Linked DNA regions of Homo sapiens: regions 1, 2, 3, 4, 6 and 7 are each linked to region 5. The links are contacts of gene promoters, found by promoter capture Hi-C in blood cells and fetal thymus (Javierre and others, 2016). All regions are on one chromosome and are shown on one strand. Each heading gives the region's core, a stretch centred on a gene start or on the middle of the fragment in contact. The rest is flanking DNA. Distances are from core to core; before and after follow the strand shown.

Region 1 (3,591 bases), core at 43-2,542, 1.8 Mb before region 5:
TGGGCTGAGGAGGCAGAGTCATTGGAAAAGGGGAGGTTGCAGATACGGTGCAAGCTCCCAGACAGGAGAGGGTGAATTGGGGGCCAAAAGGATTGAGCTGGGGAAGAAGAGGCCCCTTCCTCAGAGAGATGAGGGAGAAAGGCAGACCAGGGCAGATGTGGATGTAGGTAAATGTTGTGGTGTGTGGGGAATTAGCTTGTTAAGGGTCACGCCCAGATACCTTGGGATTTTTCACGTGGGTATAAAATATGATTCTCTGATGAGAATGATGGTCAAGGTAATGTGGGGGTCGTGGTGGTGGTCTGACGCAGCAGTAATAAGGAATGGGAGAAGCTGACTACAGACTCCCAGAAAGATTGCTGAAGGGCCCAGCTGAGGATGGTGACTGGGATTTGCACTGGACTCAACCTGCAGGTTTCGATGGTGCTTTCCAACTCCAGGAAAACTGGGCTGGGATTTGACAAAACTCTTGAGGAAAAGGACTCACAGAATTTAAAACTGCATTTCCCTTTAGGTTTCGTCTGCTTTCCATCCTCCCCTACCAAGCCCCACAACTGCGGCGAGCATGTTTTCTGCAGTTAACTGCACTGCGCTCTCAGCAGGACAGAAATGACGAATAACTCTAGCCAAGCTGAACAAGATAGGGCTTGGGCTTGGTAACTTTATTTGCATCAGCATTTGCAACACAACACCTAAATGAAAAAATTAACTATAAAGCCGACATCACTTACTCTGGGTCAGGGAACTGTGCCATTCGCTTTAAGTGCATTTACTTAATCTCAAAAAAGTATTAAGAAGTGAGTCCTTTTATTAATCCGACTTTACACACCAGAGGTCTAAGGCCTAAATAAATGAGCAATTTGCTTAAGATCATATGGCTGGTTATTGGTGGAGTCATGCAAGTCTGGAAACAGAGTCATCGCTAACTCCGGTTCAGTGCTACACGAGTGAACTGTCTACAACAAAGCAATAACATATTATGAGTGCCCACAGTATCGAACACATACGGTAACCGCAGTCCAGCCAGCACCCCTGCAGTGCCCAGAGCACCAAGCACCCATCCGTTGACCCCGCATGCGTGACGCTCACGCGCGCAGTCCCCCTGGCTTCTTCCAGGAAGGCTGAAGCGGCCTAATCTCGGCCAAAAGATCAGGACGACTCGATCTGGGCTGGACTCCTTCTGCCTGAGCATCTGATCCGAGCGTCGGCCGGGCTGGGAGGAGCCGGCCCCCGGGAAAGATTTCGGACTGGGGGACAGGAAAACAGAGGGCGGAGTCTTGGGGGGGGGAAGCGAGAAGCCGCATCAACCATGTAAGCAGCTTCGCTTCCTGCCGCAACCGTCCGCGGCCTGAGGAGCCCACCGCCGCTCTCGGGGGCCGACTTCCGGGGGCTGAGCCGTTGAAGCGGAGGCTGGGGCGGGGGGCAGCCGGCGCGGCCGGGGCAGGAGGCGCAGGTAAGGGAGGGGGCCTGGAGCTTGGCCGGCTGGGGCTCAGCATGGGAAGGAGGCCGGTATGGGGAGCTCCAGGGCCAGAGCTGAGGTGAAAGTGAGAACCAGGGCTCCGCAGTCGGGGGCTAGGGCCTGGCTGCCGGCTGAGCAAGGAAGGGCAGAGAATCTGGCTTTAGAATTAGCTTGTCCTCCCTATTCCCCGGCTGCCTTGTCTGGCGAGTGGGGACGGAAGCCGGGTGGGGCCCTTGAGATTTCCTTGGAAACATTTGAAGTTCCTTTGCCTCTCTCTCGACCCTTACGCCTGAACTTAATTAGGAGGGGAAGAGTACAGTTACTTTTCCCTCTGAGTGCATGAGTTCTGAGTTTGTCAGAGGCGCATCCGTAGGCTGGAAAAGAAAGTTCATGAGCTGCAGAAACGATACCAACCGTGGGGGTTCAAATAAGTGTTTGTCTTTTTAAATGCTTGCCTCTGCTATTTGAGACGATTCCATTTCAACTTAGGTTTTGGAGTTTCTTGAGGAGGAGCATTATTTCCCAATTAGTGTTTACCCTTTGCTTAGAATGTTCCCAACAAAAGGATGAGAATGGAATGTGTTGGAAACTTTTAGGACTTAGGGGTTTTCTGCCCAATCAGAGGTTATTCCTAAGACAGTCAAGAAATATAAGAAGTGCTAGAATTCTGTATAAAGCAAGTTATTCGTGTGTATCTGATGTGTATACATGATTCATTATCTACTATTGACGCAGTGCATCCTGTGTTGTAAAATATGTCCAGTGTTGACAATAGAGGTAGTCGCTTGGTATAATGTACTTATTTCTGATTTATTTGAGCCCCTTTTTTGGCACTCCAAAACTCCCACTCTGTCAGTTTTCTTACAAAAAATGTTCTTTCTTTTGTGTTTGTGACAAAGATTGTGTAGGTTAAATCTCTTCTGTGGAGCAAGGCTAATTTCCTGTGTTCTCCCTTTTTCTGCTTTCTGGATCCTGCTCTGGTTTTCCTTTAAGCGTGTTGGTCAAAAATTGAACAAGAAATCTTTGTTGATAGAAGCTAACATTTCCAATATTCAGCTTTCCTAAATTATTACATTGCCAGTTTTTTTTTTTTTTTTTTTTGAGAGACAGAGTCTCGCTCTGTCCCCCAGGTTGGAGTGCAGTGGCGCGATCTCCTCCGACTGCAACCTCCGCCTCCCAGGGTTCAGGCGATTCTCCTGCCTCAGCCTCCTGAGTAGCTAGATTGCAGGCGCGCGACACCACACTCGGCTAATTTTTGTATTTTTAGGGGAGACGGGGTTTCACCATGTTAGCGAAGCTGGTTTTGAATTCCTGACCTCAGGCGATTCACCCGCCTCGGCCTCCCAAGGTGCTGGGATTACAGGCGTGAGCCACCGGGCGGGGGTCTCCCTCCCTCGCCCAGGCTGGAGTGAAGTGGTGTGATCTCGGCTTACTGCAGTCTCCGCCTCCCAGGCTCAAGGGATTCTCCTGCCTCGGCCTCCCAAAGTGCTGGGATCACAGGTGTGAGCAGCCACGTCCGGCCTTTACTGACTGGCTTCTGATAGTTTGTAGTAGGTCTGCATATATTAGTAGCCTTAATTAGAAATGGTGAAGTATTGGTGATATATCAGAAGGCTTTGGGTAGGTAGGTTAATAGGACTGATTACCACTCAGGAAAGAGTCCTAATTTATATTTTAAAGCGTTGTTAAGCTGCTAAAGAGTGAGAGTTATAAGATAATTTTTTCAGGGCCCTAGTGTCATTATGTAATTATTAGGGTTAACTATATGATTGGGTTTATATTTCAGAGACTACACTTGCTAAGTGTTTTCATGGGAATTTTTATCTTCTTATTTCCAAAGCCGAGTATAATTTTTGTGTAGATAACCTTTAGAAGTAATTCTAAGACTCTTTAGGCAGAATGTCATCTCTGCCTCTGACATTACTTGTGTCAAAGTAGAATGTAGGCTGTTTTCCAGGGGTGGTTGTTACGGCCATCACATTATCGTTTCTCTCCAGAGCTCTTTTTTTTTTTTTTTTTTTTTTCCCTAAATAAAATAGAGATGAAGTCTCGCTATGTTGACTAGGCTGGTCTGGAACTCCTGGCCTCAAGCGATCCTCCCGTCTCAGCCTCCTAAAGTGCTGGGATTACAG
Region 2 (3,518 bases), core at 53-2,552, 1.8 Mb before region 5:
CTTTTATTTATTTATTTATTTATTCATTTTTTTGAGATGGAGTTTTGCTCTTGTTGCCCAGGCTGGAGTGCAATGGTGTGATCTTGGCTCACCACAACCTCCGCCTCCCGGATTCAAGCGATTCTCCTGCCTCAGCCTCTGGAGTAGCTGGGATTACAGGCATGCGCCACCACGCCCGGCTAACTTTGTATTTTTAGTAGAGACAGGGTTTCTCCATGTTGATGAGGCTGGTCTTGAACTCCCGACCTCAGGTGATCTGCCCGCCTCGGCCTCCCAAAGTGCTGGGATTACAGGCGTGAGCCACCGCACCCAGACAATTTTTTATTTTTTAATTAATTTTTTTTTTTGTAGCAATGAGGTCTCACTATGTTGCCCTGGCTGGTCTCAAACTCCTGGGCTCAAATGATCCATCTGCCTTGGCCTCCCAAAGTGCTGGGATGACAGGCATAAGCCACCACGCCCAGCCATTTTCAATTTATTCTAATATTTTGTTTATAATTAAAACTAAACTGTAGGCTGGGTGTGGTAGCTCATGCCTGTCATCCCAGCACTTTAGGAAGCTGAGGTGGGTAGATTGCCTGAGCCTAAGAGTTCAAGATCAGACTGAGCAACATGGCAAAATCCTGTCTCTACAAAAAATGATAAAAACTAGCTGGGCATTGTGGTGTGTCCCTACAGTCCAAGCTACTCAGCAGGCTGAGGTGGGGGGATTGCTTGAACCCAGGAGGCTGAGGCTGTAGTAAGCTGTGATTACACCCCTCCACTCCAGCCTGGGTGAAAGAGTGAGGCCCTGTCTCAAAAACAAACAAACAAACAAACAAACAAACAAACAAACCAAAAAAACAGAAAATAAACTGAGTTATTTTTCTTTTTGACTCCCTATTGTTGATACCTCATTATAAGGTGTTCCACAATTTCTTGATCAAGAGAGCTTTTCACCCAAAGGCAACCTTGGAGAACTTCAACCTTGACCTTGCTAGGCTTGTTCATCCCTGTTAACTCCCTTACCCCTGCCCCCAGCTGAGGCTGCTGCAGCTGGTCCAACTCAGCCAAGTGTTCATCGATCCCAATAGTCACCTTCCCAGCTTCAGTCCTTGAAGGCAAATAGAAGGTCCACGTGTGCAGTGGTCTATCAGGGGCTGGTCATTGCTAAGACTCACATTGATGGAGGTAGTGATGGCAGTGTGCCTATCCCGATGCCATGCCAGTGAGTCAGGAGTTGGGCAGGACTGGTTTTACAAGGTACAGATCACAAAGACCCGGCTGATAAAATGATATGTAGTAAAGAAGCCAGTCAAAACCCGCCAAAACCAGATGGCGATGAAAATGACCTCTAGTTGTCCTCACTGCTCATTATATGCTCATTATAATATATTAATATGCTAAAAGATACTCCCACCAGCACCGTGAAAGTTTACAAATGTCATGGCAACGCCTGGAAGTTACCCTATATGGTCTGAAAGCAGGAGGAATTCCCTCAGTTCCAGGAATTGCCCACCCCTTTCCCAAAAAACTAATGAATAATCCATCCCTTGTTTAGCATATGATTTTTAAAAAACATAAAAATAAACATAAAAAACCCACAAAAACATAAAACATAAAAAAACATAAAAATAGCCAACCAGCAGCTCTGCCTATGGAGTAGCCACCCTTTTATTCCTTTACTTTCACTTTACTCTGTTGGCTTGCTCTTGAATTCCTTAATGTGCGAAGGCAAATATCACAGGGCCTTTGGTGTTCAGCCTGTGACATCCTTTCTGACAACAAATGAAGGGACAATGGAGACCTCCCCCTGAAACCCAGACTAAAACCAATTGGCACCATTCAGACCTGATGGGTGGGTGAGTCTCCCTTTGTCCAATTTCAACTTGCTACTTTTTTTTCCCCTTTGATTTTGGCTCCTCTGTCCTTTCCTATGTTCGTTATTTTAGACAGGTGGGGAAGTGGCTGTGAGACCTCTGGCTTGGTAGCCTGATTGCAGTCTTCTGTTGTGTGGGTGCCCCAGACATGCAGCATGCCTGGCAAGTCATGTCCTTTGTAACCCACCTTGTCATCCCTTCTCTTGAACCCAAAAGTCAAAGAGATCAGATAATGCAATGCAAAACAGAGCAAAGCCTTAGATTTTGAGAGGAATCTATCTACTTAGAATTCCTGGGGTTCCGGCCCAGCGCCGTGCCTCACGCCTGTAATCCCAGCACTTTGGCGGGCGGATCACGAGGTCAGGAGATCGTGACCATCCTGGCGAACACGGTGAAACCCCGTCTCTACTAAAAATACAAAAAATTAGCCAGGCATGGTGGCGGGTGCCTGTAGTCCCAGCTACTCAGGAGGCTGGGGCAGGAGAATGGCGTGAACCCGGGAGGCGGAGCTTGCAGTGAGCCGAGATTCCGCCAAAATTGTGCCACTGCACTCCAGCCTGGGCGACAGAGCAAGACTCTGTCTCAAGAAAAAAAAAAAAAAAATTCCTGGGGTTCCATGAGGAAAACAGAATTTTTTCCCAAAACGGAGTCTGTGGCATGCTTTCAAATATAAACAGACTGCTTTAAGGAGTCAAAGTTGACTTATAGAGCCAATAAAAGCCCCTTGGGAAAACTGGCCTCACACCTTGTCTATGCAGTCCCTGTACAGGGTTCTTGACTTGTGGTAAGTAAAAATGTCACTTTCTGACAGGCCCAGGAGCCCCAAGTTACCTTGGGACCTCGAGAGGAGAGGAATTCACCCAACTCATAAAGGCGTTTGTTGGCACAGATAAATCTGTGGCTGGGCTCAAGACCTTAAAAAACCTAATCTGAGATTATTTATGTAACAAAGTTCCATCAAAGCCTATTTACAAAGAGCCTATATGGCAGATAATTATTCTTGCTGCCCTTTATGCAAAAATCAGGCAAAATATAATAAGACTAAAACTTATTTTGCAAACAAATTGGTCCTACCACGATTTATCTTTTATAAAAATGAGAGACTTCAGAGAGAAAAAATTATACTACAAAAAACTATAGTACACGTGTTGTTAGATTCTAGTCTTGACCATTGTTTTTTGGGTTTTTATTATTGTTCAAAATTTGGACTGACTCCTAAATTCTTTCTGGGTTACAAGTCCCCAAACTGTTTTCAAATTTTTCTTCCATTTTTCTGAGTAAATTCAAAATCACTACTACCTTCCTCCTGAGGCCCTGCAAGCTAAAGCTTATTCCTTGTGATATAGATGAGAAAAATGTGTGAGGTTGCCGCTGCCTTCCTGCTCTATAACTAAAGATGCTTTGAGTCTAACCCCTGGATAGACTGTGCCCAAAATTAACCTTTGTTTTTCTTCTGTTCTCATAAAAATGCCTCTTACTAAAAATCTGTTTGTTTTTATTTGATTTTTAGAAATAATTATTATTTGTTATATTCAACAGGGGTTCATCCTGTTAAAGTTTATGTCTTCCAAGTTATAACAGTTCCAGACAAAAATAGCTGGCCTGAGGGTTCCAGCCTGTGCCACTGCAGAAAATATTGAGTTCCTATATATCATTAGA
Region 3 (3,523 bases), core at 248-2,747, 1.7 Mb before region 5:
CTAACTTACAGCATTTTAACAAGAAGACTTTGTATCTATTCCCTTTGAAATATTACTGATATATGAACTATGTAATTGTTTTCCTGTAATCTTTCCATAACTACTTTCTTTTAAACTTATTTCCAAGTAATTTTAGACACACATAGAATTGCAAAATATAGACTTACATAGGGTTGCAAATATCGTACAGAGAGTTTCTGGGTATCCTTTACCAAATTTCTCCCAATGATAATATCATGCATAACCATCATAAGTACTTTTAAAAGTACCCTTAACATTGGTAAATAAGCATTTATTTAAAAATGAATTTTCTCTGTAATTCTGTTTATTGAAGAAGAATTTACACCTGTGATTTCACTTCTTGTTTTTATTTCCAGATCAGCCAGCATTACTAACCTGTCACTGGATAGATCTGGTTCTCCTATGGTACCTTCATATGAGACATCTGTCAGTCCCCAGGCTAACCGAACATATGTTAGGACAGAGACCACTGAGGATGAACGCAAAATTCTTCTGGTACTGGTCCAGTATCTTTGACCCATTGCTAGTTTTGAGCATAGAGAATGTTCATGTGACTGAGTCTTTTTTTTTCTTTTTGAGACACGGTCTTGGTGTGCTGCCCAGGCTGGGGTGCAGTGGTGTGATCTTGGCTCCCTGCAACCTCTGCCTCTCAGATTCAAGCGATTCTGGTGCCTTAGTCTCCTGAGTAGCTGGGATTACAGGCGCATGCCACTACACCTAATTTTTTGTATTTTTAGTAGAGACATGGTTTCGCCCTGTTGGCTAGGCTGGTCTCAAACTCCTGACCTCAAGTGATCTGCCCGCCTTGGCTCCCAGAGTGCTGGGATTACAGGTGTGAGCCACTGCACCCAGCCTGTCACTGAGTCTTTTTAATAAGAAATATATAAGTGAAATAGCATATCAGTTAAACAGAAGTGCTTAGCTTCAGTTTTACTAGGATCACCTGAGAGATGGGTCAAGTATTCTATACTCATTGCATTAATATTTTCTTTTCTTTCTTTCTTTATTATTATTATTTTTTTTGGAGATGGAGTCTCGCTCTGTCACCAGGCTGGAGTGCAGTGGCGCAATCTCGGCTCACTGCAACCTCCGCCTCCCAGGTTCCAGCGATTCTCCTGCCTCAGCCTCCTGAGTAGCTGGGACTACAGGCATGTGCCACCACACTGAGCTAATTTTTGTATTTTTAGTAGAGACGGGGTTTCACAGTGTTGGTCAGGATGGTCTCAATCTCCTGACCTCGTGATCTCCCTGCCTTGGCCTCACAAAGTGCTGGGATTACAGGCGTGAGCCACCGCGCCTGGCCAGTATTTTCTTTACCCTTTTATCTGGTAAAATCAGAATTCAGTTACCTATGTAATAAGAGAGCTTAACTCTTAGATCCCATATTGCTATTTAAGCTTTGAAGCATGTTTGTTATACACATGTAACACTTTTCAGACATTTAATACTATATGTTTATATGAAATAATCAGTTGCTTATTGAATTTATCTGTGCATAAAATACTGTGTTCAATTCTAAGAGTGACTCAGAGAAATGGAAGGTATGGCTGTGTCCTCAAGCTTATAATTCAAAAGTAGAAATAAGAGCCAGGTGTGGTGGCATGCACGTGTAGTCCCAGCTACTTGGGAGGCTAGGGTGAGAGGACTCTTGAGGCCAGGGGTTTGAGGCTGTAGGGTGCTGTGATCATGGCTGTGAATAGCCACTGCACTCCAGCCTGGGCAACATAGCAAGACCTTGTCTCTAAGACAACAAACAAACCAGCAAACCCACAAAAGGTAGAAATAAGATCAGTGGGAAGATCCTTAATAGTGGAAGTAGTAATACTTTAATAATAAAAAAGTGTCAAATAAATAAATGACTATATGTCATGTAAGAATTCAAAAAAACAGAAAGCTCATTACTAATGAGGGAATCAGAAAAAGGCTTAAACTGAAGGACTTGAACTGGACCTTGAGAGATGGAATCATTTTGGATAGGCAGTGAGGAAGGTGAATCTTATTTAAAGGTGTGAAGAAAGATACAGAGGTAAGAATAAGCATGACATTTTCCATGGCCAGAAGTAGGATTTTTTAATTGGGAGAGAGTTTAAGTAGGAGTCTGGGGGCAATGAGAAAGGAAAGTTATTTGGGACTACCTGGTGGAAGGCAATGAATTCTGTACTTACAGGTGTAGATTTGAAACTTTAGTTGCTGAGGAACATTCAGAATTTTTTTGAGCAGGGAGTAATTTACTGAAGCTCTTCTTTTTAAAAAACTCATCTGTCAGTTGGGTACACAGTGAGAATCTGGTGGAGTGAAAGCCTCTAGGAACAGTTACCTTAGGTTAGTGTGATTAACTGTTGTCTCCCTCTGCCTTGCCCCATCTCCAAAGAAGAATACATAAATAGGAGATTGATAATATGTGCCATTGACTGAAAAAAGAAGTATTTGGAATAGTTGGTTTTCAAGAGAAAAAGTTATGTTTGGAATTAGATGAGCAGAGTTCAAGCTGTTCCCACGTATATGACATTTGTATTAAATTGTGTGAGTTAGCTACCATAAAGAAATCCAAGTTAGGTTTCCTTTTATGAGTCTAAAAATCACAGGAAAACATCTGAAAAGGTATATAGCATTTTTCTCAAGGGTAACTACTTGCTGTTAATGTGATTGCAGGACAGTGTGCAGTTAAAAGACCTGTGGAAAAAAATCTGCCATCACAGCAGTGGAATGGAGTTTCAGGATCACCGCTACTGGTTGAGAACGCATCCCAACTGCATTGTAGGAAAGGAATTAGTCAACTGGCTAATCCGAAATGGGCATATTGCCACAAGGTATTCTGATCTTAGAAGGTTTCAATATTATTTGTTTATTTTGAATGAGAAAACATATTTGAAGATAGTAAGAGTTACAGATTTCTTTGTAGAGTTAGGGTGCTCTTTGTTTTATGTAATTGATGGTTTAGGGTGCTAATTACTTAACCCTCCTCCAATCTGAGTTTTAACCAGCAGAGAACAGATGCAAGGAGTACAAGGAGCCAAATAGGATCTTAATTTACCTTATTAAAAGCAGAAGAACTCTCTAGCAAAGGAGGATTAGAGAAGGTAGCTGGAACCTAAGGCCAAAGAATTCCCCAGCTACTGTTCACTAATCTAGACAGGTTGTAACCTGTGTTGAGTATTTGATCCATAAGCTATGCCTGTCGGGTCCTAGCTTGCCTCACAAATCATTTATAAAAAAGAGTAACAGACAGGTCCTGCTTTTCAAATACATGTATCCCCTAGCTTTTACTATTTTCTCAGATTAGCTACTCCTCCTCTCATGGGAAGAAAAAGGTACGTAATGAAGTAAAGAGAGAAATAGCTTTAAGCAGTAAAGCCCTGGTTGCAATTTTGGCTGTATATATTTTTTAGCTTTGTGCTTTTAGTCACATTATTCAATCTCTGAGACTTCTTCACCATGAGGAAAATTGTGTGGTCCTGTGAATAAACTGTGGGGGATGAAATAATAGTGGCTGAAGTGCTTT
Region 4 (3,581 bases), core at 992-3,491, 1.7 Mb before region 5:
GAGGATTGTGTTTGAGAAGGGTGAGCAGGAAAATAAAAATCTTCCGCAGGCTGTTGCCTCTGTGAAGCATCAAGAACATAGCACAACAGCTTGCCCGGCGGGTCTCCCTTGTGCTTTCTTTGCACCTGTACCGGAATCATTGTTGCCACTCCCTGTGGATGACCAACAAGATGCTTTAGGCAGCGAGCAGCCAGAGACTTTGCAGCAAACAGTTGTGCTGCAGGATCCCAAAAGCCAGATAAGAGCCTTTAGAGACCCTCTACAGGATGACACTGGATTATATGTTACTGAGGAAGTCACCTCCTCTGAAGATAAACGAAAGACTTATTCTTTGGCCTTTAAGCAGGAATTAAAAGATGTGATCCTCTGTATCTCCCCAGTAATCACATTCCGAGAACCCTTTCTTTTAACTGAAAAGGGGATGAGATGCTCTACCCGAGATTATTTTGCAGAGCAGGTTTACTGGTCTCCTCTCCTCAATAAAGAATTCAAAGAAATGGAGAACAGGAGGAAGAAACAGCTGCTCAGGGATCTCTCTGGACTTCAGGGCATGAATGGAAGTATTCAGGCCAAGTCTATTCAAGTCTTACCCTCACATGAGCTAGTGAGCACTAGAATTGCTGAGCATCTGGGCGATAGCCAGAGCTTGGGTAGAATGCTGGCCGATTATCGAGCCAGAGGAGGAAGAATTCAGCCCAAAAATTCAGACCCTTTTGCTCATTCAAAGGATGCATCAAGTACTTCAAGTGGCCAATCAGGAAGCAAAAATGAGGGTGATGAAGAGAGAGGGCTTATTCTGAGTGATGCTGTGTGGTCAACAAAGGTGAGCCAGACCACTTTCTGATGCTCCTGTGCATTTAGGATGTGTTGAATGACTCCTCAAAGGCAGGCTAAAAAAATCAGTTTGGCAGACTGCATGCAGATTTGTGAAATATTTCTTCTCCTATGCTATTTTTGTTTTTGTCTTGAGTCTGCTGGCTTATGTGTTACTTTAATATGTATGAAGCAGAATTGTAATGAAACTGGGTTTCAGGGTTTTAAGGTGAGCTTATAATAAGCTAGGAAGATCCCTGAAGTAAGGGGAAATGTGGAGCTGCTTAAAATTTCTGACAACATGACTTGGATGTGGTATGATAATCCTGGATCCTTGTGTCAGGGAGTGAGAGATGGAAGCTTATTGTAGGAAATAGATGTGTTTTTTTAAAAAAGTTAGCAGCAAATATATTTGTTTTCTCAAAAAAAGTTAGCTCTTTTTTTAACATAAAACATTTTACCTTGTTATTTAACTATGACAGTGATCTTTTTCTTTTTAGGCATAAATTGAGAGCAAATTAAGGAAGGTTTATAGATCCATTATTGATAATGGTAGCAATAAAACTAATTAACAAATCCATTGCTAGATGAGGAAATGCAATTGTTTAATAAAACGAGAAGATGTCCAATTTCGCCAGTAGTCAAGGAAGTGCTAAATAATGTATGTTCAATTTCACTAGTAGTCAAGGAAGTGCTAAATAATAGTGGTGCTAAATAATTTTTTATTTGTCAGATTGACAAAAAGGAAAGTCGTAAAAGACCCATGGTTAATGATGGCATGGAAAAACACCTTTCATAAATTTTATGTAAGTTTATACAAATGTAGGTATATGTACATTTGTATAAATTTATAGAAAGTGATAGGAAAGTCTCCATTAATTTACACATACATGTATATACCTTTGACCCAGGACTCCAACTTTTTATAATCTATCCTGCAGAAATAATTAAGTATGCTTATATAAGGGTGCTTGCATTTTTTAAGAATATATGTACAAAGATGTTTATTGAAACAGTTTAAGGATGAGCAGGATCTCAAGTCATTTAATGACTTGGATAAAGCCCATGATATATTTGAAGTGTTAAAAAGCAAATTATGTTTTAATATGTGTTGCATTATTCCATATTTATAAAAACAAAACCCCCTGTTTGTACTTAGGAAGTGATGTGTGTATGTGGGACAGGTATGTAAACTAGCAAAAAGAATAGATATTTTAAAACCACAGAGTCAAACTCCGCAGCTTAGGAGGTGGAGTAGAATCAGGAGGAGCAGTTTTGTGTATTTTATGAACTTCTTCATATGCTTCTATACTGTTTCAATTTTAACAGAGAGCTGGTTTTACCTTTGTAATGATCAAAAACAGCCATAAGCATAGATAAATAAACACTTTAGAATTTAGATTTCTGGGTGTCTCAGATTGATGTTATATCCCATCAGTTCAGACTGTTAAATATGGGTATATTTAATTAATTTTTTTCCAAAATAATTTAGTGCAGTTGTGTAAAATAAAGAGTAAGTTAAGAAAACAAGCTATCTAGACATTGTTTTGTATTTTTAAGTTTAATTGAAACTTTTTGGGTTGTCTTTTCTCAAAAACCAACTGCCCTTCCTTATATTTAGTTTTCTGTAGTTTTAAATCTTGACCAGAGCCCCCACAGTGATAATTGGAGGCTTTACAAATAGAGTGGAGTGTGTTTGGTGCATTGGGGTTGAATGCGGTTGCAGTCACTTGCTCATCCATTCATTCCTTCTATTTCAGGTGGACTGTCTGAATCCCATTAATCACCAGAGACTTTGTGTGCTCTTCAGCAGCTCTTCTGCCCAGTCCAGCAATGCTCCTAGTGCCTGTGTCAGTCCTTGGTAGGATTCTTTTCCCCCTACACTATTCCACATAAGAACAGAATTCCAGCAATTAAAAAAAAACAAAAACAAAAAAACAGTCATTAGGACCTGTATTTAGGTACACAGCACACTGCTGGTCATATATGAATTGATAGAACTTTTAAACTTGTGAAGTAAATATGAAAATACATGTTTGTTCATGAGTAGAAGTAAATGAGAGTATATTAAGAGTGAAAAAAGTGTGAGGGATAGAAGAGGAATTTGTATTGGTTGACTTTCCCTTATCTGAAATGCTTGGGACCAGAAGTGTTTTGGATTTAATATTTTTTCAAATTTGGAAATACTTGCATATACTTAATGAGTTATCTTGGGGATGGGACCCAAGTCTAAACATGAAATTCATTTGTGTTTCATATACACCTTGTACACGTAGCCTGAAGTTAATTTTATATAAGATTTGTAATAATTTTATGTATAAAACAAAGTTTGTATACATTGAACCACCAGAAAGCAAAGGTTTCAGTTGTGGAATTTCCCTCTTGTGGTACCATATCAGGACTCAAAAGTTTCAGATTTTGGAGCATTTTGGATTTTGGATTTTCAGATTAGGGATGCCCAACCTGTACTTAAAAATGTGAGAAAGTTGACACACAAAAAGCTTGTTTATAAGCATTTTGATGATAGCATGTACAATTTAGGCAGGTTTTCCTTCAGGCATAATTTTTATAAAAGCAGTCAACCTTTTGCTTTATTAATGGGTTTTAGTCTAAAACTTAAGTAGATTGATAGAAACTGAAATACATTTTATGTTTTAAATTATTTTTTTCAAATTATTGTCACAAAAACCTCACACAGACATACATAGCCTTACATTACATGTTCACCTTTAGTTTTAAAAGTACTATGGAACATAACTTCTTGTTTG
Region 5 (3,581 bases), core at 1-2,500:
GATACTATATAACACTTAAGGCACGAGTAATTTTTTTTTCACCGTTTCCCCTCCATGGCTATGAAGGAACTGGGAGAAGGATGCTCCTTTCATTAATTAAAATTCTTCACTTTGAAAATTTAAGTTTATTAGGGAAGGAAGGAAGAAAAATATGAAGATGTAAGTATACATACCTTGGAGTAAGTATTTCCTTATATTGGAGTTTCTCTAATTTAGCTGGGGCTACTAATGACATGGGAATCACAATGTTATCTATGTCATAAGAGCTCTCACTTCTCAATCTCCGTCGTGCAGTATTCTGCAAAACAGGATTACAGTAGATTTACAGTACTGTCTAGTTACTTGTAATGATACCCTCCTTTCATCAGTTATGTAAATATGGCAGTACACGTTACATAATTTTTGTAAATACATTGTTATAAAGTCTGACTAAAAAATGTTAAGAAAACCAAAAAATAAAACATTTTTCTATCTTTTGTAAATCAGAACAATCTCTTGGTAGATGTGTAATGTGTATTTATGTGTGCAAGCATACAAGCTTATTTTTAAGACCACAAAAAATAGGTCTTAAATGCAAAACTCTTTATCAGAAAAGACCAACATACATCACCCTAAATGTCAATGAAAATGATCAGTAACCACTTTTTATTAGGAAAGGCAGTGAAACATTTTTGGTCAGCCCTTCAGTATACTCTTCATTTATGCATTCCTGGTTCCTGAGTTTCGGAATTCATTTCTAAACCCTCCCACCTTTTGACCTCTCTATTCCCTGGCCAGATAACAAAAAAACAAACAAACAAACAAAAAACAGGACAAGAACAAGAAAGTCCTGAATTCTCATTAGTAAGACTTTATTTAGCTTAATATGTTAAGGAATAGAGATGATCATGATAATGTTTAAATTTTTAACACATAAAAAGAAGCTATAACCAAATATTAATGAACTTTTAGCTTCATAGTTAAAAATAAGTTGTATGAATCAAATATATTGTTTTCTAACAAGATAGTTATAAATGTCTGTTAATATGTGCTAGTAAGGCTGTTATAGATTAGCAAAATATAAATTATTTTCAAAATCAGGTGTTTTTATTTTTAAAGCTATTTTAGAGTTCAACATATGGAAAAACCTACTCGTGATGAATTCTGGATTCTTGATAAAACGTTGACATTGGAAACAGCAGTAAAATTGCTATGGGATCCTGATTCTGTGTGTTGAAAATCAGATTCTTCAAGTTTAGTTCTTTCTCCTGCCATGGAAAGAACCATTGAATGTTACACATTAAACAAGTCTAATATCATTAGAATTACTTTCCTAATTAGATGACAGGTGATTGATTCCTTGTTTTGTGTGTGTGTGTTTAAATTCGTGTATTAGAAAACAAAAAAGGAAATGAAAAAAGAGGAGCCTTACTTGCAGTCATGCCACAAGTTATTTCCATTTTCTGGGGCTTTGGCAGTTTTTATCGAATATATTTCTTATTGTTCCCTGAATAATCCCTCATCTCATCCCTTTATTCTTGTTTCCTGTGACTCCTATTCATAGTTGAACCACCAGAACTATCTTAATTTTCTTATCTAATCTCATTTTTCATATCTGACTTTTTATCCTAATTTATGTGAGGTATCTGTCCTTGGTCTTCTGAACACTCTTAATTTTTTGAAAAAATTCTGCTATTATAAGTACATGTTTCCGAAAGTACTTGTTCTCTGGTACTCTTTTTTTAAAACAGCATCCTGTTCTTGTTTCATAGATGAAATTTCTCATATCTCTCAGGATATTGATTAGAAGTTTACTTCTGTTAGTATTTTCTGTATATCTTCCAAGTTCTTTTTTTTTTTTTTTCCTGTTTTGGTTCCCAGTTACTGTGTGTGTGTGTGTGTGTAGTAAATATATATATGTATGCGTTTACTTACTGCCCTTATTTTAGTACAAGTGTTTTAAAATGAGAATATTTCCTGCATAATATAAAATCTAATACCCAGTCCATATTTAAATATCTCCATTTGTTAAAAAAAAGTCCTTTATAGCTAGTTTCTTCAGATAAGGATCTATATATAAAAATTGGCCATTGTCTCCTAGGTTTCTTATAGTCTAGAATAAATCATTTTTCATTACATTGACTTTTGACAGGCTGGACCAGATGTCCTACCCTTTTGGAATTGTCTAGTTATTTATTTGTAGTATGACATTTCTTTATTTTATTCCTGTATGTACATCAAACTTGAAGTTAGATCTAAAGTGTCAGTCAATTTAAGTGAAACATTTTATATCTTAGGTAATGTATACTTCATGTTGCATCTTATTAGATGTTTTTAAAGCTTTATATATATATATAAGTTGAATCTTGTTGACTTTCTCAAAATCCTGAGGAATCTGCAGTGCATCAACATCTCCACAGTAGGTACCATAAATGGTTAACAGTTTCTGTAAGGCAACTTTGCACTAGCCTATTTTGAGCATAGAACACAACTTTGAAGATTAAATCCCATCCAGGGACTGATTGGTAGAAGACAACTAGTCAGGGAACATAGGAGGGAAATACTTAATTGCCATAAAGTGGGTAGATACCAGTCCACAAATAATTCTAAATTAACTACGAATATGCTGTTTCATGTTTGTAGACTCATAGATGTTTTGTGTTATTAGTGGCTGTTCTGGATTATAAACTCCCATGAGAGGTTATTTTAAAATCAGAATTTTTAATTTTTAATATTTATCACTACTGCTTATATCCTCACTTTAACCTACCTAATGCTGTTTCACTCAAATGTCTTTTCTTTCTTCCCTGTAACAGTTGTGCAGAAGATTCTGACCTTATTTGAGGCTTACATATAGGTGAATATCCATTTCTCCATTGATTCAGAGTACTATGTACTAAAACAAATGAAAAGGAAATATTAAGTTTTAGTTCCTTAACACAGACAGTGAACATGTCAATCTGTTTTTATTTGTAACTGCAGAATTTTAAGATACCAGTTCAAAATTACAGATAAACATAAATACCAAGACACACAACTCCAACTAAAAACATCCCCAGGAATTTCCAGTTTCTTATATTTTCTCCATTTTTTTGAGGGGGATGAAAAGGGAAGATGATCTGTTCTCAAAGTCTTCCAAATTACAGAAACTTGATAGAGTGAGGATTGGCTCAGATATATAAATCTTGGCGATCAGAATCTTTAAGTTCTTGCTTACCTTTAAATCTGGAAATAAGTTGGGACCAAGTAAGATTCAACATGGTCAGACTAGACTGTGCGAGCAAGAACCAGAATCATTTAATATCTCTGATGCCTTAGTTGCATCATCTGTAAAATAGGGATAATAGCAGCGACCTTGGATAATGATTACATGAGTTTATTCCTGTAGTAGTAAGTAAAAGTGTCTGATGTGATAAGTGTGCAGTAAATGTTAGCGTTATCATGATTGTATATCTGAACCCCCTTATTTCCAGCCTTGGTCTAACAACCAAATTGGCTTCTTTTTTTGAAAGGTTTGGAGATGTGGAAAGGAGTGGAAAAAGAAATATGTAAGCTGAAGTGCCAAACTCACACTGAAATAAAGGGCATGGCCTACCAGCTGA
Region 6 (3,571 bases), core at 116-2,615, 1.7 Mb before region 5:
TTTAGTCGTGATAGCTTGTTCTTTTTTTTTTTTTTTTTTGAGACAGAATGTCACTCTGTTGCCCAGGCTGGAGTGCAGTGGTGCAATCTCGGCTCACTGCAACCTCTGCCTCCTGGGTTCAAGCAGTTCTCCTGCCTCAGCCTCCCGAGTAGCTGGGACTACAGACACACACCACCATGCCCAGCTAATTTTTGTATTTTTAGTAGAGATGGGGTTTCACCATAATGGTTGGGCTGGTCTTGAACTCCTGACCTCAGGTGATCCACCCACCTCGGCCTCCCAAAGTGCTGGAATTACAGGCGTGAGCCACCATGCCTGGCAGCTTGTTCTTTTTGTGCATAAAAATCTTCTCTGAACCCAAATAATGAAGTATAGGATGATTCCTAAGTAAGCTCCTAATAACTAAATTGACTTGGCAAGTTATTTACTGAGCCTTGAATCCTCTATCCATTCTGTTAAAATATGTTTTCCCTTGTATCCCTTCTCTCAGTTTACTTGTTGACATAGTACTTGGAGCATCCTGCCTTGTACAATCTGAATATCTTTTTTGTACCATTCACTCATTTTCTACTACCCTACATACGAGGTAAAATTTTTCTACTTAGAAAACAGCAGTCACCTCTTACCCATTGAGGATATGTTCTAAGAACCCCTGTGGATGTCCGAACCTACAGATAGTACTGAACCCTATAAATGCTATGTTTTTTCCTGTACATACATACCTATGATAAAGTTAAATTTATAAATTAGCCTAGCCACAGTAAGAGATGAACAACAACAATAAGATAGGACAGTTTTATAATAATATACTACAACAAAAGTTATGTGAATGTGCTGTCTCTCTTTCTAAATATGTTAATGTTTTTGGACTGCAGTTGACTGTGGGTAATTGAAACCATGGAAAGTGAAACTATGGATGAGGAGGGACTACTGCAATGCTGTTCTTATGCCTTATTCCGTAGACATTTCTGACTTTTTAGTTTATACAGTTATCATATATCTTAAAGCTATATCCACTGTAAAAATATATAGTATGTCTAAAAGGGCAAAGCTTTTAAACTTTTTTTTTTTTTTTTGAGACAGAGTCTTTCTCAGTTGCCCAGGCTGGAGTGCAGTGGTGTGATCTCGGCTCACTGCAAGCTCCGCCTCCGGGTTTCACGCCGTTCTCCTGCCTCAGCCTCCCAAGTAGCCCGCCACCATGCCCGGCTAATTTTTTTTGTATTTTAAGTAGAGACAGGATTTCACCATGTTGGCCGGGATGGTCTCCATCTCCTGACCTCGTGATCCACCCGCCTCGGCCTCCCAAAGTGCCGGGCTTACAGGCGTGAGCCACCGCACCCAGCCTTAAATCTTAAGAACATCTTGGTGGTAGCTGAACTTAGTTTAAATAGAATCTAAGATGTTTAAAGCAATTTTTTCCCACTGGAAGGCATTACAGTTTTTAATTTTTCTTGTTAGATGGTGGTTCCAGGGAGTCCATTTATTCAACAAATATTTGAATGTTTACAAAATGTGATATACTAGATATTGGATGTACAGGAGTAAATAAGATAGATTTACATGCCTCTGCCTTTATGCAGTTTAGAGTTTACTGTGTAGATAATGAGGAATTTTTTTCCTTTATAAGATTCCATATGATAACATTTTTAGCCTTTGCCTTTGGCCTTTGTGAACATAATATAAGCTTCTCACTTTATTTAATAGTCATAATATATTAATAGGTAAGAAAGGTAAGAGAGTCAACCAAATCAAAAGTATTTTTTGTACTATTAGGAAGTAAGGATTCTAGCTGAGATCATCTTTTTTCAATGTCTTAGAAAAACAATACATCCTAACATGCCTCTCTTGTTGCATGACATTTATCTAAAGCAGGGTTCCTAAACTGCTAACCTAAGAGTCAGGTTTTTTTTTTTTCTTTTTGGTTAATAGAACATTAAACATTTTTTTCCCCTTAAAGTTTAGTATGTTAAGTAGAAAAGCACTCTCAAGTTCTTTTTTTCTCTATTGTACTCAACACTGAGGCTTCAAACTTTTACCTGTTCAATCCCTGAAGTCATTTGATCTAAATATTAGTAAGTAGGCTTTTAAAATCTTTGTTGAGGGTATTGATACTGGTTGATGAGTCAGTGGGTCATATTTTGTATTACCTTCTATGAAGACATTGACCTTCCTCATGAAGCTTCTACTTGATTGCTTTTGTCAGTTAACCAAAATTATTTAATTATGGAAACGTATAATGATTGTGCTTCTATAATGCAAAACTTACTCTAAAGCTTATGATTTACTTTTAAAGAAGAAGTTAATGTTTAACGTTTTTCAACCTATTTCTGCCCTAAGTTGTAAAGAATACCGAAATGCCTTAGAGGAATTGTCTAAAGCGACTCAGTGGAACAGTGCCGAAGAAGGGCTTCCAACAAATAGGTGATTCATGATTGAGTAGAAACTATTTTAATTTAGTTATGTTATCATTTTCTATATGCTTGTACTTCAGTTTTATTACAGCATTTATCATCATAAAAATTTCTAGGATTCAGATAGTGGCACTCATATTTCAGCCAATAATTGAGACAACAAAGCTCAAATATAGCAAAAGAACTTAAACAGTCCCTCAGGATGCAGTTTTATGATAATTGCAATAGCAGTTAAATGTATATTGCAGATTTAAGGACATTTTTGAAAAAAATGAAAAGGTGTTTTTATTTAAAAAATAATAACTTGTAAAATTGGTAAGCTCCTGCTTGACTTGGCAATTCAAAGTATCTGTGAATTGTTTATAATAAATAAAGGTCCTAATACTTCAAAAACCAAACCCAAACCAGTTATTTTGGCAAGTTCAGTATTTTAGACTTTTAGACAGAAATTGTCACATGCTCATTATTGTGATTCTTACTGAAATAGAGTTTCCATCTCTACTAACATTATAGTTTTATCTGAATTGTCATTGTGATAACTAGTGTGAGAGAAAGGAATTGATATTTTCTGTAGTTGTTTGATTTATGGGTGCTGATATAGTGTTAATGGACTTGGGAAACATAATGTATTCCTCCATACATTTTTATAGTTACAGCATTTCACTTTAAGTCCAGTAGATATTTCAGACTTTTTTTTCTGTGTTCTAGCCTGTGTTTATGTAAATTATGAATCAGACTTTTGATATTGTAGGTGGGCTTAGGTAGGAAGTAAATCAGTGTACAGCGTAATTAGTGTAGAGTACTTACTATTTTCTGTTTGACTTGTATAAAACTAAATTTTTCTTTTTTTTTCTTTTCATTTTAGTACTTCAGATAGCAGACCAAAGAGTAGCAGCCCTATCAGATTACCTGAAATGAGTGGAGGACAGACAAATCGTACAACAGAAACAGAACCACAACCAAGTAAGATTACACATGGAGGAATATTTATAATTAGATTTACCTATAATTATGGTTTGAAAAAGAAAATACATAAAAACAAATAAGTACTATCTGGCAATGATTTACTACTTATGATCTCTGAAATACAAATTTAGATATTTTTGTATGCCCTCTTTATACGTGTTTTGCTTTTCTTCGTTGATTCTTGTCTCAAGTGT
Region 7 (3,434 bases), core at 582-3,081, 1.7 Mb before region 5:
ATCATCCTTACCTCAATCCCTGCTGGTGCAGCCTGGTTTATTCTGTTAATGTGCTGTACTGCATTGAGGTAAGGACTTCTGCTCAGCTTTCTTCTTGATACCATTGTACCTTGATTCACACTTCCTCTTGTGAAATAAAGTTTAGCATGAAGCTGCTTTCTTACATATTTTAAGTTCGGCTTAAAGGTTTTTCTGTACATCGTGAACTGTAACAAGTGGAATATAACCAGACCGTAGCTTACACTTGTGCCATTTACCAAGTTTTGGCCAATCAAATGTAGCCAACTGTTTGAACTGTATTCAAATAAGGGAAATGCTCAGCTGTAACCAAGCCAACTGTTTCTGTACCTCACTTCTGTTTTCTGTATGTCACTTTCCTTTTTCTGTCCATAAATCATCTTCCATGGCGTAGGTGTGCTGGAGTCTCAGAGTCTATTCTGGCTCAGGAGGCTGCCTGATTTTGAATCATTCATGGCTCAATTAAACTTCTTTAATTTTTTTTTTTTTTGAGATTGAGTTTCACCCTTGTTGCCCAAGTTGGAGTGCAATGGTGCAGTCTCTGCTCACTGCAGCCTCTGCCTCCTGGGTTCAAGCGATTCTCCTGCCTCAGCCTCCTGAGTAGCTGAGATTACAGGCACATGCCACCATGCCCAGCTAATTTTTCTATTTTTAGTAGAGACAGGGTTTCGCCATGTTGGCCAGGCTGGTCTCGAACTCCTGACCTCAGCCTCCCAAAGTGCTGAGATTACAGATGTGAGCCACTGCACCTGGCTTCACTCCTTCAAATTTAATTCAGCTAAAGTTTTTATTTTTTTCTCTTTCTTTTTTTTTTTTTTTTTTGAGACAGAGTCACTGTCACCCAGGCTGAAGTGCAGTGGCACAATCTCGGCTCACTGCAACCTCCGCCTCCCAGACTCAAGCGATTTCTGGCTAATTTTTGTGTTTTTAGTAGAGATGGGTTTTCACCATATTGGCCAGGCTGATCTTGAACTCCTGACCTCAGGTGATCTGCCTGCCTTGGCCTCCCAAAGTGCTAGGATTACAGGCATGAGCCACTGTGCCCAGCCTCAAATTTAAGAAGAAACAGTTAACATGGACTTGCATACCTCCAGGATATTGTGAATACCTCTCAATATTTTTCTAAGTTCTCAAAGTCAAATTAGACTCTATGACAATCACTCAAGGTTCCCTTTGTTTCCAATATGTTGATGACCTGCTACTTTGCAACCAAAGCAAACAGGGTGCTCTTCTGGACTCCCTTACTCACCTTAAGGCACTGACTGACTAAGGTTATAAATCTTCCAGGTCCAAATGCCAACAGGTACAAAAAATTCTTACCTACTTAGGCCATAAAATATTTTAGGGTACTCAAAAACTCGTCCCAAAATGCCTTGAATCAATTTTATTCATTATCTCTCAAAGACAAACAATTACGTGAATTTTTAGGAGCAACTGGATATTGCCAATGGATTCCCAATTTTGCTGCCCATGTCTAACCTTTATATGCTGTCCTCTTAGATACAACCACAGAGCACTTTACCTGGTACTCTGAGGCACCAGCCTCCTTGGAAGCATTGTCCACACCCCAGCCCTTCGACTACCCAACTTTGACAATCTTTTTTACCTATATTACTGTGAAAATGATGGGATTGTTGTGGGTATCTTAGGACAATCTTTTTGTCCCATAACATATTTCTCATGTCAACCTAGATATGTCCCACAGTACCTTTCTCATGTTAAGTAGCATCAGGCATTCCTCCATGCTTATATGCAATAGACTTAGCTGCCATCCTAATTGACAAAGCAAGTATTCTTATACTGCCCCACCATTCACCTCTCTGTTCTCCATGCTGTTCCTCTACATTGGTATCCCTTTCAAAGTGGATCTTGCCTCAACTAACCCTTAACTGTTTTTTTTTTGTTTTTGTTTTTTGTTTTTTGACAATTCTGGCACTACCCCAACACCTGCTTGTTCCAATCTTTCAAAGCCTGGCCACCTTAAATAGTTAATCTGGTTACTGGTTAGGTTAACATCTACATAATGCAGAAGAGTTTTTGTTCCTACCAATGTAAATATACCTGGTGAACCCATTCTGGACAATGGATATATAAAAGCATATGGTATCCATAAGCAGGAAGACAAAGTCACTCTGTCTCCTCCTCTGGTAGATTAATTTGGCACTGGGAAGCCTCCATGGAAGCTCAAGGTCAGTGCTTTACCCAAGTAAGACTATTGGAAGGAAATCTCTCTACATTGAAAATAAATACAGTACTGGACCTTTTCTGGGTAACATTTCAAAAATGTATTGCAATCAAATTCTGTGATTTGGCTTCACAGATGGCACTAAACAACCCTCCACTGTCATTGTTACTTGGATTATAACTAAGTATTTCAATGTGAGTGAATGTCAGATTACAGGATAATATTCCTGGTTTGTAGGAAAAAGTAGTGGGATATGGAATAGCTCAAGTGTTCCCCTAGTTGGCTTGACCAGCACCCATGACTATAGTTGGATGGATGGACCTTAACTTGGTCAATAAATAAAATACATTTCTATAGTAACCAAGGCTAAATTAAAGGGTTTCTCTGCCAGGTGTTTCACAACCTGTTTTACCCTCATAGCCTAACAGAAGCACATTGGAAGTGAAGATGTGCAGATGCCAACATGATTGATGATAAGGGTTGTGAAAGACACAGAATTCCAACTTGGTTGTTCACAGGTTCCACCACTATGACCTTGTCTGTAAACAACACTGGTCTCTCTCTCTTTTTTTTTTTTTTTAGAAGGAATCTCACTCTGTTACCCAGGCTGGAGGGCAGTGGCACAATCTCAGCTCACTGCACCCTCCACCTTCCGGTTCAAGCGATTCTCCTGCCTCAGTCTCCCGAGTAGCTGGGAGTACAGGTGCCCACCACCATGCCCGGCTTATTTTTGTAGTTTTAGTAGAGACAGGATTTCTCCATGTTGGCCAGGCTGGTCTTCACCTCAAGTGATCCGCCAGCCTCGGCCTCCCAAAGTGCTGGGATTACAAGCGTGAGCCACTGTGCCTGGCCTGGTCTCATTTTTATGTAGCAATAAGATATATAAAAGGTTCCCACCTAAGTGGTCAGAGAAATGTGAAGTTGGATATCTGGTGCCTTCCCTTACCAGATATCCCACTTTGAATGCTAGCCACATTACAACTGGGGTTCTTTTATATATAAATTAATGCCATGTAGATGCACCTGATGAGACATCATAGACAACGCACTTATGTATTGCAACCCTAAGTTCTCAGTAATGAGAATGCTTTTCCAAAGCCTGGCAATGTACGATGTAGAAAGAACAATCCTAAGCATTCCAAAGTAATGAACAAGCATCTGGTGCCACTATACAGACTGGGAAGCCTGCCATTTACAAGTTAGCAGTGTAGCCTCTGTTGCACTCCAAAAT

The links. The method cuts DNA at HindIII sites, captures the fragments that hold promoters and counts their contacts. A CHiCAGO score of 5 or more calls a contact.
Region 1: a contact is called between the fragment with the promoter of PIKFYVE here and the fragment with the promoter of KANSL1L-AS1 in region 5, in 9 of 17 cell types (M1 macrophages, M2 macrophages, total CD4 T cells and 6 more). The highest score is 9.6, in M1 macrophages.
Region 2: a contact is called between a fragment that was not itself captured here and the fragment with the promoter of KANSL1L-AS1 in region 5, in 1 of 17 cell types (neutrophils). The highest score is 5.2, in neutrophils.
Region 3: a fragment that was not itself captured here is called in contact with the fragment with the promoter of KANSL1L-AS1 in region 5 in 4 of 17 cell types (M2 macrophages, fetal thymus, M1 macrophages and 1 more); the score reaches 9.2 in M2 macrophages.
Region 4: a contact is called between a fragment that was not itself captured here and the fragment with the promoter of KANSL1L-AS1 in region 5, in 3 of 17 cell types (M1 macrophages, M0 macrophages and M2 macrophages). The highest score is 10.2, in M1 macrophages.
Region 6: a fragment that was not itself captured here is called in contact with the fragment with the promoter of KANSL1L-AS1 in region 5 in 2 of 17 cell types (M2 macrophages and M1 macrophages); the score reaches 7.8 in M2 macrophages.
Region 7: a fragment that was not itself captured here is called in contact with the fragment with the promoter of KANSL1L-AS1 in region 5 in 4 of 17 cell types (M2 macrophages, M0 macrophages, M1 macrophages and 1 more); the score reaches 18.4 in M2 macrophages.

What each region holds. Positions count from the first base shown.
Region 1 is chr2:208,264,963-208,268,553 of GRCh38, forward strand. PIKFYVE (phosphoinositide kinase, FYVE-type zinc finger containing) reads left to right here and starts at 1,293. Exons shown (of 42, transcript NM_015040.4): 1 at 1,293-1,453. RefSeq lists an enhancer at 1,130-1,179 and a silencer at 1,310-1,579. The HindIII fragment of the contact is 8,601 bases long and covers 1-3,591 here.
Region 2 is chr2:208,191,613-208,195,130 of GRCh38, forward strand. No RefSeq gene overlaps it. Among named protein-coding and RNA genes, the nearest start is that of C2orf80, 3.3 kb to the left of the region's middle. The HindIII fragment of the contact is 3,764 bases long and covers 1-3,184 here.
Region 3 is chr2:208,298,264-208,301,786 of GRCh38, forward strand. PIKFYVE (phosphoinositide kinase, FYVE-type zinc finger containing) reads left to right here. Exons shown (of 42, transcript NM_015040.4): 8 at 378-516; 9 at 2,674-2,831. Among named protein-coding and RNA genes, the nearest start is that of PIKFYVE, 34 kb to the left of the region's middle. The HindIII fragment of the contact is 163 bases long and covers 1,417-1,579 here.
Region 4 is chr2:208,325,607-208,329,187 of GRCh38, forward strand. It overlaps PIKFYVE (phosphoinositide kinase, FYVE-type zinc finger containing), which reads left to right. Exons shown (of 42, transcript NM_015040.4): 20 at 1-823; 21 at 2,574-2,674. Among named protein-coding and RNA genes, the nearest start is that of PIKFYVE, 61 kb to the left of the region's middle. The HindIII fragment of the contact is 2,141 bases long and covers 1,172-3,312 here.
Region 5 is chr2:210,028,672-210,032,252 of GRCh38, forward strand. It overlaps KANSL1L-AS1 (KANSL1L antisense RNA 1), which reads left to right and starts at 1,251. Exons shown (of 5, transcript NR_110291.1): 1 at 1,251-1,327; 2 at 2,796-2,836; 3 at 3,492-3,581. It overlaps KANSL1L (KAT8 regulatory NSL complex subunit 1 like), which reads right to left. Exons shown (of 15, transcript NM_152519.4): 9 at 2,750-2,875; 10 at 1,132-1,247; 11 at 174-298. The HindIII fragment of the contact is 1,781 bases long and covers 537-2,317 here.
Region 6 is chr2:208,342,774-208,346,344 of GRCh38, forward strand. PIKFYVE (phosphoinositide kinase, FYVE-type zinc finger containing) reads left to right here. Exons shown (of 42, transcript NM_015040.4): 33 at 2,338-2,421; 34 at 3,277-3,374. Among named protein-coding and RNA genes, the nearest start is that of PTH2R, 62 kb to the right of the region's middle. The HindIII fragment of the contact is 633 bases long and covers 1,050-1,682 here.
Region 7 is chr2:208,366,603-208,370,036 of GRCh38, forward strand. It overlaps a transcript of PTH2R not described here. Among named protein-coding and RNA genes, the nearest start is that of PTH2R, 38 kb to the right of the region's middle. The HindIII fragment of the contact is 6,349 bases long and covers 1-3,434 here.